Regions from separate parts of the Homo sapiens genome. Here region 2 is linked to region 1. Evidence: promoter capture Hi-C in human tissues and cell types (Jung and others, 2019). All regions are on one chromosome and are shown on one strand. Each heading gives the region's core, a stretch centred on a gene start or on the middle of the fragment in contact. The rest is flanking DNA. Distances are from core to core; before and after follow the strand shown.

Region 1 (5,634 bases), core at 117-2,616:
GAACCTGGTTGAAAATACCAGGAAACTGTTACAGACGCCATTTTTTTTTTTTTTGAGACGGAGTCTTGCTCTGTTGCCCAGGCTGGAGTGCAGTGGCACAATCTCAGCTCACTGCAAGCTCCGCCTCCTGGGTTCACGCCATTCTCCCACCTCAGCTTCCCAAGCAGCTGGGACTACAGGTACCTGCCACCACGCCTGGCTAATTTTGTTTTTGTATTTTTAGTAGAGACGGGGTTTCACCGTGTTAGCCAGGAAGGTCTCAATCTCCTGACCTCGTGAATCGCCCCCCTCGGTCTCCCAAAGTGCTGGGATTACAGGCGTGAGCCACCATGCCCGGCCCAAATATTTTTTATTCAGGATGGTATAACCTAACTGATAATAGGTAATAAGGTTAAATTTTTTTATGACGTATTTTATTTACAAATATCATACACTGCTGGTGTTACCATATGAAAGGAAATAAAGTCAATTGATAATTGCCTCATTTTTATTGCCCTTATTTCATTTTCCGTTGTTCATAGTAACAGGCTTTGTTTCTGACATAGAAAATAACACAATCTCTTTATAAACTGCCATAAATTTGTTCGAATGGAGTTTATAATGTGTATCAACAGATAGGAATTTGAGGCCTTTGTTTGAGAAGCTTTTGTAGGAAAAGAAGCAACTGAGCTGGGGAATGAAGAATCATGGCAGAAGGTAAAAGAAACAAAAACAAACAAAAAAAGAAAATAGGAAAAGCAAATGGAAATGACTCACCTAGAGATTGGAAGAAGTTAGTTGTAGAAAGAGGTGTATGGATATTTAAAAAACTAACATAGGGCTGGGTGCAGTGGCTCATGCCTATAATCCCAGCACTTTGGGAGGCCGAGGCGGGAGGATTGCTTGAGCCTAGGAGATTGAGACCAGCCAGGACAACATGGTGAAACCCCACCTCTACAAAAAATACACAAAAATTAGCCAGGTGTGGTGGTATACACTTGTAGCCCCAGCTACTCAAGAGGCTGAGGTGAGATCACCTGAGCCCAGGGAGGTTGAAGCTGCAGTGAGCCATGATTGCGCCACTGCACTCCAGCCTGGGTAGCAGAGTGAGACCCTGTCTCAAAAAACAAAAACAAAAAGAACTAACGTGCTATTTTTACTTCAACTAAAACTTGGAAAGAGGAAACATGTTGGAAGAGATTACCAAAGATTAAAAGTAGAGTGAATATAACCTAGATAGAACAGATGTTTTGTGTGAAATTTAGTATCTTTAACTTAATAAACCAGCAGGAACTGTATGAACACAACACACCCAACTGACAAACAGAGAGAACTAACATGTTTATTTAGCTGTATGTATATATGCTTAACTACACCCGAGGAAGCTGTAGAGTTAGAAAAACATGAACCATTAACAGATGTGGCCTCCCTGCAGAACTTTTACTTTGAAAAAGAAGTACGTCTGAACCAGATTCACATGTTTGATATTTGGATGCAGAGAAAATGGGGCAGAAAGCATCGCAACAGTTGGCTCTGAAGGACAGCAAAGAGGTGCCCGTCGTCTGTGAGGTGGTCAGTGAAGCTATAGTCCATGCAGCTCAGAAACTGAAGGAGTACCTTGGATTTGAATATCCTCCAAGTAAACTCTGCCCAGCTGCAAATACTCTGAATGAGATCTTCTTAATCCATTTCATCACTTTCTGCCAAGAAAAGGGAGTTGATGAGTGGCTGACCACCACCAAGATGACCAAGCACCAAGCCTTCCTGTTTGGTGCAGACTGGATTTGGACCTTTTGGGGATCCAACAAGCAAATAAAGCTTCAGCTCGCAGTACAGACTCTGCAGATGTCTTCACCTCCTCCTGTGGAATCTAAGCCTTGTGACCTTTCCAATCCAGAATCAAGGGTAGAGGAGTCTTCCTGGAAGAAAAGTAGATTTGATAAGCTGGAAGAATTCTGTAACTTAATAGGAGAGGATTGCCTGGGTCTGTTTATCATCTTTGGTATGCCAGGAAAGCCTAAAGACATCAGGGGAGTTGTCCTGGACAGTGTCAAAAGTCAGATGGTGAGGAGCCATCTGCCAGGAGGGAAGGCTGTGGCTCAGTTTGTCCTGGAAACTGAAGATTGTGTGTTCATCAAAGAGCTGCTCAGAAATTGTCTGAGTAAGAAAGACGGGCTGAGAGAGGTGGGCAAGGTTTATATCAGCATTCTCTGACTTGGATATGTATTATGTGAGTGGCCTGTAAGAGGAAAAGAAAAAAAGATTCTAATAAGCAAGCTCACCTATTTGCATCATTCCAGCATGGGATTTTTTTTCATTTGTTTTCCCATTGATTGAAAATGATTACTGGGATCAAAGTACATTCATGTCGCAATTACAGAGAGAGAGAGAAAAAAAGAAAACCCTGGCTCTGCCTATGATTTAAAAACAGTTCAGGAAAAGTTATAATTTAGTTTAATATTTCATTCACTTATTCAATAATAAAAATGGAAGAGAGATAATAAAGTCACATTTAAAGTTTGATTTGCAAAAAAAAAGTGTCTGTTTGAAATAATAAGTCTAGCACTCAAAAGTATAAAATGTGTTTTTGCATCTGTTGGTGGGAGATGGGTAGGATAAAGTAGTGGGTAAGGCTACAGAGCAGGTTTAATTACATTTGTAATGCCAGTTTCAAGCCAGGCACAGTGGCTTATGCCTATGGTCTCAGCTACTCAGTAGGCTGAGGTGGGAGGATCGCTTGAGCCCAGGAGTTTAAGGCTACAGTGAGCTGTGATTGCACCACTGTGCTCTAGCCTGGGCAACAGAGTGAATCCTCATCTTTAAAAAAAAAAAAATAGTTTGGGTTCAGGACTCCTGCACAAAACTCACAGCGTTCTTTTCCTCTAACACTTACCTTATTCTGTCTTCTCCCTAGCTGCTGTCTCTGCACTGAGAGGACTTTGATGGGATTTACTTTGAGATTCACTTTAGTGTTAGCTCTGCCTATGATTTAAAAACAGTGACCTATAAAACTATTCCTTTTAATAATACTTGTTTAGCCTTTGCAGTAAGGAAGGTGTATTCACATATAATAACCATTTTTACTTAAAAGCCAGTGTGGAATTATAACAGTACAAAAAGGAATCACCATTATTTATTGCACTTGTAAGTCAAGTCAGATGCTTTACATATATTAGCGTGATTTGCATGTGTCTTCCATGACTCTAAGAGGTTTCTATTTGCCAAATCAAAGAGGCTAGATAACTCATAAATCTATTAAGTGGCTTGTAACAAAAAAGTAAAGTCTGCCCAGTTACAAAGCCCATATTCTACAGTCGTGTAAAGAAAATTCCCTGTAAGCCTATAAATTAGGTTAAGTAAAAATCAATTAAAAAAAAAAGAAGAAGAAAAGAAAATTCTTTGGCCAGGAAGAGTAGCTGTGATCCCAACACTTTGGGAGTCTGAGGCAGGAGGATTGCTTGAGCCCAGGAATTCAAGACCAGCCTGGACAACATGGTGAAACCCCATCTCTACAAAAAATACAAAAAGTCATGGTGATGTGTGCCTGTAGTCCCAGCTACTTGGGAGGCTGAGGTAGGGGGACTGCTTGGGTCCGGGAGGTCAAGGTTGCAGTGAGTCGTGATCGTGCCACTGCCCTCCAGCCTAGGCAACAGAGCAAGACCCCATCTCAATAAATACATAAAAAGAAAATTCTCTGATTTTAAACTACTGGAATTGCTGAGACAACAAAGGTGTTCACCTGCAAAAATGCTAGCTGGTTACTGTTGCTCATTTTTCCTCCATTTCCTGGCCTTAATCTGTGGCTACTTTTCCTGTTGTTGAACCACCTGTTCACTGATACGCAGCCATTAGAAACATGGGCTGAATCCTTTCAACTGCATCCAACCTCTTAAAATCGTTTCTGTTTCTGACAGTCTTCTTATGGCCTTGGCCTTTTCTGTATTTTGGAATTTAGGGCATGTTCCTGTGAGGCTGAATTAAGACATATGAGCGCAATGTGGCGTCATGCAGGTATTCCATAGTAAGAAATACATTTGTTGCTGTGATCTGTATAACTGAAGCATGTTGCAGTGCACTCTGATAGTTTGTCCTACATCGGTTTGTAAAATGCTGACTGCAAGCCACCAAATTGATATCATGACCAGCAATAGGCCACAATGCAGAGTCGTAAAAACTTTGTCATGGTAGAAGGAGTGAGAGCTTTCGAGTTTAGTTGAGGACAAACCTGCTTAAAATCCCAGCTCTTTTATTTACACGTATCCAACCAAACCTCTGTGCTGGTTATTCTCATTTCAACCTCCACATCTACTCCCCACCTTGTCTGCCTTCTTCTGGGCTCTAACTGCATCACTCTGGCTTCCATCCAGTGGAGAGCACGAGATCAGAAAGGGGACAGGTCTGGAATGTATTAGCCCAACTTTCCCTGCCTCACTACGATGCTTGGTTCCAGACAGCTCCTGTCCAGCTGGCCCTTCTCTGAGACTCCAGCTCCCTCCCCTTCCCCTCTCAGGCCATTGTCCCTTCCGGGGTGCTTCATCATTCTTTGTTAGTTCCTTGCACCCTGCCCCCACCCTGTAGATGTACTTTTTCCTTAGGTAGACTTGAGGGTGCCATTTGATTTCTTCTGTAGCCCTAATGCCTCCTGATTTTCCTATCTAAAAACCGGAGATGACAATACCCACCTCGTAGAACTGCTATTCGTTATAGAATTAAGAATAGCCAAGCGCGGTGGCTCACACCTGTAATCCCGGCACTTTGGGAGGCTGAGGCAGGCAGATCACGAGGTCAGGAGTTCAAGACTAACCTGACCAACATGGTGAAACCCCATCTCTACTAAAAACACAAAAATTAGCCGTGGCACATGCCTGTAATCCCAGCTACTCAGGAGGCTGAGGCAGGAGAATCACTTGAACCCGGGAAGTGGAGGTTGGAGTGAGCTAAGATGGCGCCACTGCACTCCAGCCTGGGTGACAAAGAGAGACTCCGTCTCAAAAAAAAAAAAAAAGAAAAAAGAAAAAAAAATCAAAAGTGCTTAGTACGATAATCCAGATCCACTCTTTGATTCTTTATCCAGCCCAGTAAACAGGATCCACAGTGAATCTAAAGGCGCGTCATTAACTTCAATCTAGATTTAGGCTTAAGTGCATGCCCTGTTTTCTTTCCATTGAGCCTGGTGTTCTTCAAATTAAAATACGCCTTGCAACATTGGGGAACACCAACCCCCAAATCCCTTCTCTTCAACTTTATCTCCCAAAGAAGTCCTGGGGGAAAGCGAGGAAAGGAGCATTCATAATCCCCATGATGCCTGCAGCTTCAGGAAAGAAGAAAGGGATGTATATTCTCTTCAGCCTCAAGAAATGGCTTTGTTTTCCCTCCCGTCAATGTTTATTCACCCCCATAGCCCTCTCCTTGAGGAACCTGGAATAGGAAGAACATATCTGTGGCCTTGTAGTTGTCCTTCATTAGAAGCTGGCATGAAAGAGTGTTTAATAAAATGGAGTATTGATATACACAATTACTTGTCAATTAAAAAGGACTTTTTTAAAAGAAGGTGAGTATTGGCAGAGACATCTGTTTCTTCTTTTTGGTAGTGAAGTCTCCAATAGCATAGAGTCAAGCTTAGCTTTTGCAATTTGGGTTAATATATTGCCAAAA
Region 2 (6,048 bases), core at 1-2,500, 180 kb before region 1:
GATTTCATAGCATAGTGAACAGAAGAAATCTTAGCAGTTCTTCTTTGCAATTCAACCTCTCCCAAAGGGGGCTGAATCTAGGGTCCAAATCTTTTCCTTCTTAACATGATGATGTGTAGCCACCCCAGAACAATTGGGTTCAACTTTTATGTAACAAAGCTGTGAGCTGTTTTTCTGTCTCAACAGATGTCAGGTCATGTAACCAGAGCATGCCCAGATGAACTAAATGTGCAACAACAGAGTGAACTTAAATGCTCAGAAGGAGGATTGGAGACTGAATTAAGAAGTAGACACCTCACGGCCGGATGCAGGATCCAATCAAATCGAGTTCTGGTGTCCCGATGGCAGGAAGCAGTCAGATCATGCCTCCCGACATTACCTCATTGCAAGATCCAATCAGATCACACCTCATTACCCTATGGTTATAAAACCTGGCTCAGCCCCCAGCTAAGAGAGTCAATGCTTTGGGAACTAGTCCTGTTCTCCTTATGTGTTACATTAATTTTTAAAATCCCCTTGTTAAATCCTCCTTGGTTGTGGTCATTGGGTTAACACCTGCCCAGTGACCAAATCTACCTGTTGTGTGGGTAACAGATGGAATCACTAAGTCACGATATCCATTGATTGCCCTTTTGATAGGAAAGCTCAGAACTTTACAAACCAGTCCTATAAGAAGCAGCATCTTTCCTTATACTACTGGTTACTCTCATAAATGTAACTCAATAAAAGTGAAATAGGGTTGATTGAGGGAAGTTTTTTGTTTGTTTGTTTTGAGACGGAGTCTCACTCTGTTGCCCAGGCTGGAGTGCAATGGCATGATCTCAGTTCACTGCAACCTCCGCCTCCTGGGTTCAAGCGATTCTCCTGCCTCAGCCTCTTGAGTACAGGCGTGCGCCATCGCGCCTGGCTAATTTTTGTATTTTTAGTAGAGACGGGGTTTCACCATGTTGGTCAGGCTGGTCAGGCCGGCCTCAAACTACTGACCTCGTGATCCGCACGCCTTGGCCTCCCAAAGTGTTGGGATTACAGGCGTGAGCCACCGTGCCCGGCCTGTTTTTTTGTTTTTGTTTTGATTTTAGTAACATGAGATATGCTATGTCCTGACTCTGTTCTCATTATAGTTAAAATAAATAAATCTAAACTCCTTCAAGACCCTAAGTGATCTGGCTGCTGATATGAGAGTCTGTAGAAAGATAAAACAATATTCAAGCTTCTTTTCTTTTGGCCCTTTGTTCATTGCCCTTGTAATCATAGCTTCTTCATGCTAGTTGCTTAGGGAAGGAATGAAGTAGAACAGGGCCATGTAATTAATATAATGATATTTAATTAATATGCAATGATAATTATATGTTGTAAACTAATACATTCTAAAATTCCCACAATGTGTGACAAAAATATACCACCAAGACAGACTGAGGTTGACCTAAAGTAATGTCACAATGTAATATGATTTAGAGGCAAACTTAATCTTGATCACCAGATTATACATTAAGAACTTTCACCTCGCTTCAGAATAAAACACTTCACTTTGTCTGCTCTATTTTTTTCAGGGAAGGTAAAATGCTCTCACATTTATTATCTCGTTTAAAGTCACGGCATTCCTTAAGCGCTTTCAAGTCGTAAGGCATTAAAAGTATTCAGATTACCTCAGGTGATAGAAATTTAGTGTGAGACTACCTGAGGAAGGGAGGAAATGCAGGAAAACCACTGAACCGTCAAGCCTCATGAGAACTGGAGCACAGTCCGGGATTCAAGAGTGAATCTACTAGTCTATTATTCTTACGGCTGAGCTTCTCTCTCAGCACAGACTGTACTGCCAAACTCGGTTGTATTATGCTACTTCCTAGTTATGTGACCATGGACAAGTTACTTAAGCTCTCTGTGGCTTGGTTTTCTCATCTGCAAAGTGGAAACAGGGTTGAAGGTAATATATTTAAAGGCATTTAAAATACAGTTCGAGTCTCCCTTATCTGAACTGCTTGGGACCAGAAGTGTTTAGGATTTCAATTTTTTTTTTTTTTTTCAGATTTTGGAATATTTGGATTTTACTTACAGGTTCTTATAAGTAACTTGCCAGCATCCCTAATCTAAAAATCTGAAATCCGAATTGCTCCAATGGACATTTCCTTTGAGCGTCGTGTTGGCACTCAAAATTTCAGATTTTGGAGCATTTTGAATTTCAGATTTTCAGATTAGAAATGCTCAACCTGTAGTACCTGATACACAAAAATCGGCATGTGTTCACTATCATCATTACCATTTTAATTATTGCTGTCCTATTTTTGATTCCTTCAGTAGCTAGCGTCCACCACCCCTGTGGCATCCACCACCTCATGGCTCCTGACTACTGCTTTTTCTAGGTGTGACTCTCAGCACATGCCACCCTTTTCTGCTTTATGTTTTACTTCAGCTCCTGTCTACTTTCTTCTGATTTCATCTTCTAGACCTCATGCTTCTACTTACTATTCTGTGCATGACCTGTATTCATTCTGTTTATGACCTTTATTCCATGTGCCTCCTTGCTTCTGCTCTACTCTATGGTCTGGTTTTCTAGACATATTCAATGTGTCATATTAAATGTCTTGAGGGAAGATATACATGGCCCCGTTAGTGGGTGTTCAGTACAGATCTCTGCTGAACAGTTCCTGTGCCTGTTTGCCCCAGGCCATTGACAAGTTTATACCTGGCTGTCTTCATTCAGGTGGGAATCCATGCTTCAATCAGTGCTATTGAAGTGTCGTAGGAAGGTTGCCGAGGAATCCTGGGTATACAGAGCCATTTCGGACTCTCAGAAGGAAGTTGTGGAGTTAGCAGCATCAGAGTTTCATGGAACACCCTTTTTTAGTTTGTTTGCATTAATGACATCCCAATCACAGATGAAGAAACTGAAGCTCAAAACTGTCAAATGATGCTGGGTCTTATAACTCAGAGCACACACTTAACTAATTTTACCAAAGAAGAGGTGATATTTCTTACACTTTCTTTTATTCAGAAATGGGTGATGACCTTTTTTCAGAAATGAATGTAAAAGGCACTAATATGGCTATTACATTATGTATAATTCAGAATTCAAGCCGTTTAGGATCGAATGGAAATTAAAGTGAAATAAGATTAAGAGGTTTAAAGCCTTTAAAAGACGGACATACTGGCTGGGCACGGTGGCTCATGCCTGTAATCCCAGCACTTTGGGAGGCCCAGGTGGGCAAATCATGAGGTCTGGAGTTCGAGACCAGCCTGACCAACATGGTGACACCCATCTCTACTAAAAATACAAAAAATTAGCTGGGTGTGGTGGTGGGTGCCTGTAACCCCAGCTACTCAGAAGGCTGAGGCAGGAGAATTGCTTGAATCTGGGAGGCGGAGGTTGCAGTGAGCCGAGATCACGTCACTGCACTCTAGCCCAGGTGACAGTGCGAGACACTGTCTCAAAGAAAAAAAAAAAAAGACAGACATACTAAAGTGATAGTTGGGATCCTTTCCCATTGCTTCCTTAATACCCTGGCTAGTTTAACAAACCACAGTACTGATTATCTGGCAATTCAGATGTTGCACAGTCAGCATCCTTCAGTGGAAAGGAATTTCTGAAGATAGACTCTGGAAGAGCAAGGGAAAGTAGCAGAGAATCTAATTTTTATGGGACTTGGGAGATAGATGCTATATCCTGAAGATTTATCAGCAACTTGTTTCAACATGCCAGGAAAATTTCTTCAATGAAAGCATTTGTTTAAGCCAATTTTTCCATCATCATCTTACATCTGTTTTAGCTAAAATTTATTTCTCTTAGTCTTCTTTGACAGAAGTGTCTGGGTTAAAGTTAACCTGCCATTTTAAAATGTAAGTTCTAGTTAAGTAAAAGAATTCTAGTTAAATATTAGGAAAGACTAAACAGACAATAAATTAATGATTGTTTAGGTGACAGGTGAGTGAAGTAGAAATTAATGGATCAGTCTGAAGCCTCGGAATTGTATATATGGCACTGGTCCAGGGAATGTCAAGTTGGGTAAATTTTGATCAGTAGTGAGCCACGACGTATTATTTTAAAACTGAGCCCTATTTAATATTGTGGCAGGTGGAAATCAAGGGGGGACTTACTGGTTTTGAGTAATGCTCTGTTGTTACTGGGCGTGTTCCTAAGACGTTGAAGAGGCCAATGCACAGTGCATGTTGATAGGAAGGATGGCGGGGCTCTCCCACCCAAAGGCTTGACAGCTGTAGAAAGGCTTGGGCTGCTTGGGGCAAACATTATGCAGATCACCTACATGCAATGAAAAACAGGAATTGCTCCTGTGTATTGAAAAGGCTGGCTCCCTATCTTGTTGACCTGTCTCAGAATACAGAAACCAGACATACTTTTTAGGAGATTCAATTAAGGAAGTTTGTAATGAGGTTAATTGTTGAAGAGAATGTAATTTGTTTAGTTTAGTCATTCGTTGAACATTAATCAAAGACCATGAAAACCAATTATCCTTATTTTTAATTAAAATTTTTCAACTTATAAATAGACTAATAAAATGAGTAAGTTGAATGTAACTAGATTTTTAGATGTATCTGGTGGGTAACCAGAGAATAACCAGCACAATTGGGTTGTAAGGAAAAAGTGATTAAAATAAGACTCCCCACTTGGAGCAAGATATTGTGCCTATTTCTAACCTGTCTCTATGGGCAAGAAGGGAATGGGGAGGAGGGTTGGATTCAGAAATGATGTCAATGGTGATAGCTAGGTAGTGGCTTAGTATTCAATGAAAGGATATTAAAATAACGTCTGGATTATCACCAATGCCACGCTTAGGATCAGACAGAATAAGCAGTAATTTCCTTTAGAAGGAATTCTAAAGCTAAGCTTGTTTGATTTGGATTTGGGTTCATGATTTATACCATGTGTTTAACCCACTCTGTGTTTGGCAGTGTGACTGGGATAACAACAACTGGAGGCACCCAGATCCTTTGTGATCAGTCTGGTCAAGTTATTCCTGAACTTCTGAAGACCTAGACCATAGCAGGTTATGAGTTTCAAGCAAAAGACAGCATTCATTCACTTATTCATTCAGTGAATATTTAATCAATGTCTATGGGACAAAACATGGTTCTAGATCCTACAAAGGATGTAAAGATGAAATAAATTAGCATTCTGTTCTTGAGGACTGTAAGAAACTTGGAGCCAGAAAGGAACATAAGGCACCTATAAAAATTATAGTACAATTGTTTTATGTTGTAGGAAAAAGGAAAATATGTTTGCTTATCACCTATGATGTGTCAGGCAAGGTGCTCTGTCATCTTGCATATGACATCTTGTCAGATCCTTGCAACAACACTGTGAGGTAGATTTTTGTAGAAACAGGCAAAAATCACAGTGAGGATGTATTATTAGGAAATATGGGTGCAAAGTCATGCAGTGCATGCAGTGTGGGCATATGAAGAAGAGTCGAAAATAAGTTCAGAAAGGTAAGTTGGGGGCAAGGATGTGAAGGCTTTTGGACACCAGTCAAGAAAGTTTGATGAGTTTTGTTCCTTGGTAAAGGGAGACTCATTTAAGTGTTTAGAGTCAGGAGTGATCAGGGTTGTGCTTTAGAGAGCTGCAGCTGGAAGCCTGTAAAGACCAGACAGGCAAATGCTGTGGATTTGATGAGTAGGGTGAGCCTCTTCTGGTACCTGCATCCAAAGAAAGGGAGGTGTCCTCAAGCCTGCTCAGATTTGGGGATGGTGTAACTAAAGAGTCAGCTTGTTCTGTTACTGCAAAGGGCAGAAGTGAGAGTGTAAATTGTGGACAATCAATGCTTCAGACACAGAAAGACAAAATAGGTTTGGAATCAAATAGACCTTGGTTTCAATCCCAGTTCTGGGGGAATCTGGAGCAATTTACTTGTATAACCCTGGAGAGTGATTCCTCATGTCAAAATGATGCTAATAACACTTACCTTACAGGATGTTTGTGAGGATTAAATGAGACACAAGACAGATGTCTTTGGGGAGAAAGTCAGTAAAGCAGGATCCAGATGGATATGAGAAAGATCCCTTTTTTTTTTTTTTTGAGATGGAGTTTTGCTCTTG

The links. Contacts are between HindIII fragments. The study calls those that stand out against the background at their distance.
Region 2: a contact is called between a fragment that was not itself captured here and the fragment with the promoter of REP15 in region 1, in 1 of the 25 tissues and cell types used here (spleen).

What each region holds. Positions count from the first base shown.
Region 1 is chr12:27,695,081-27,700,714 of GRCh38, forward strand. It overlaps REP15 (RAB15 effector protein), which reads left to right and starts at 1,367. Exons shown (of 1, transcript NM_001029874.3): 1 at 1,367-2,516. The coding sequence starts at 1,483. The coding sequence ends at 2,193. PPFIBP1 (PPFIB scaffold protein 1) reads left to right here. Exons shown (of 30, transcript NM_003622.4): 30 at 1-484. All of the region lies in intron 3 of MRPS35-DT (MRPS35 divergent transcript), which reads right to left. The HindIII fragment of the contact is 6,420 bases long and covers 1-3,697 here.
Region 2 is chr12:27,514,178-27,520,225 of GRCh38, forward strand. No RefSeq gene overlaps it. Among named protein-coding and RNA genes, the nearest start is that of PPFIBP1, 7.0 kb to the right of the region's middle. The HindIII fragment of the contact is 3,550 bases long and covers 1-3,025 here.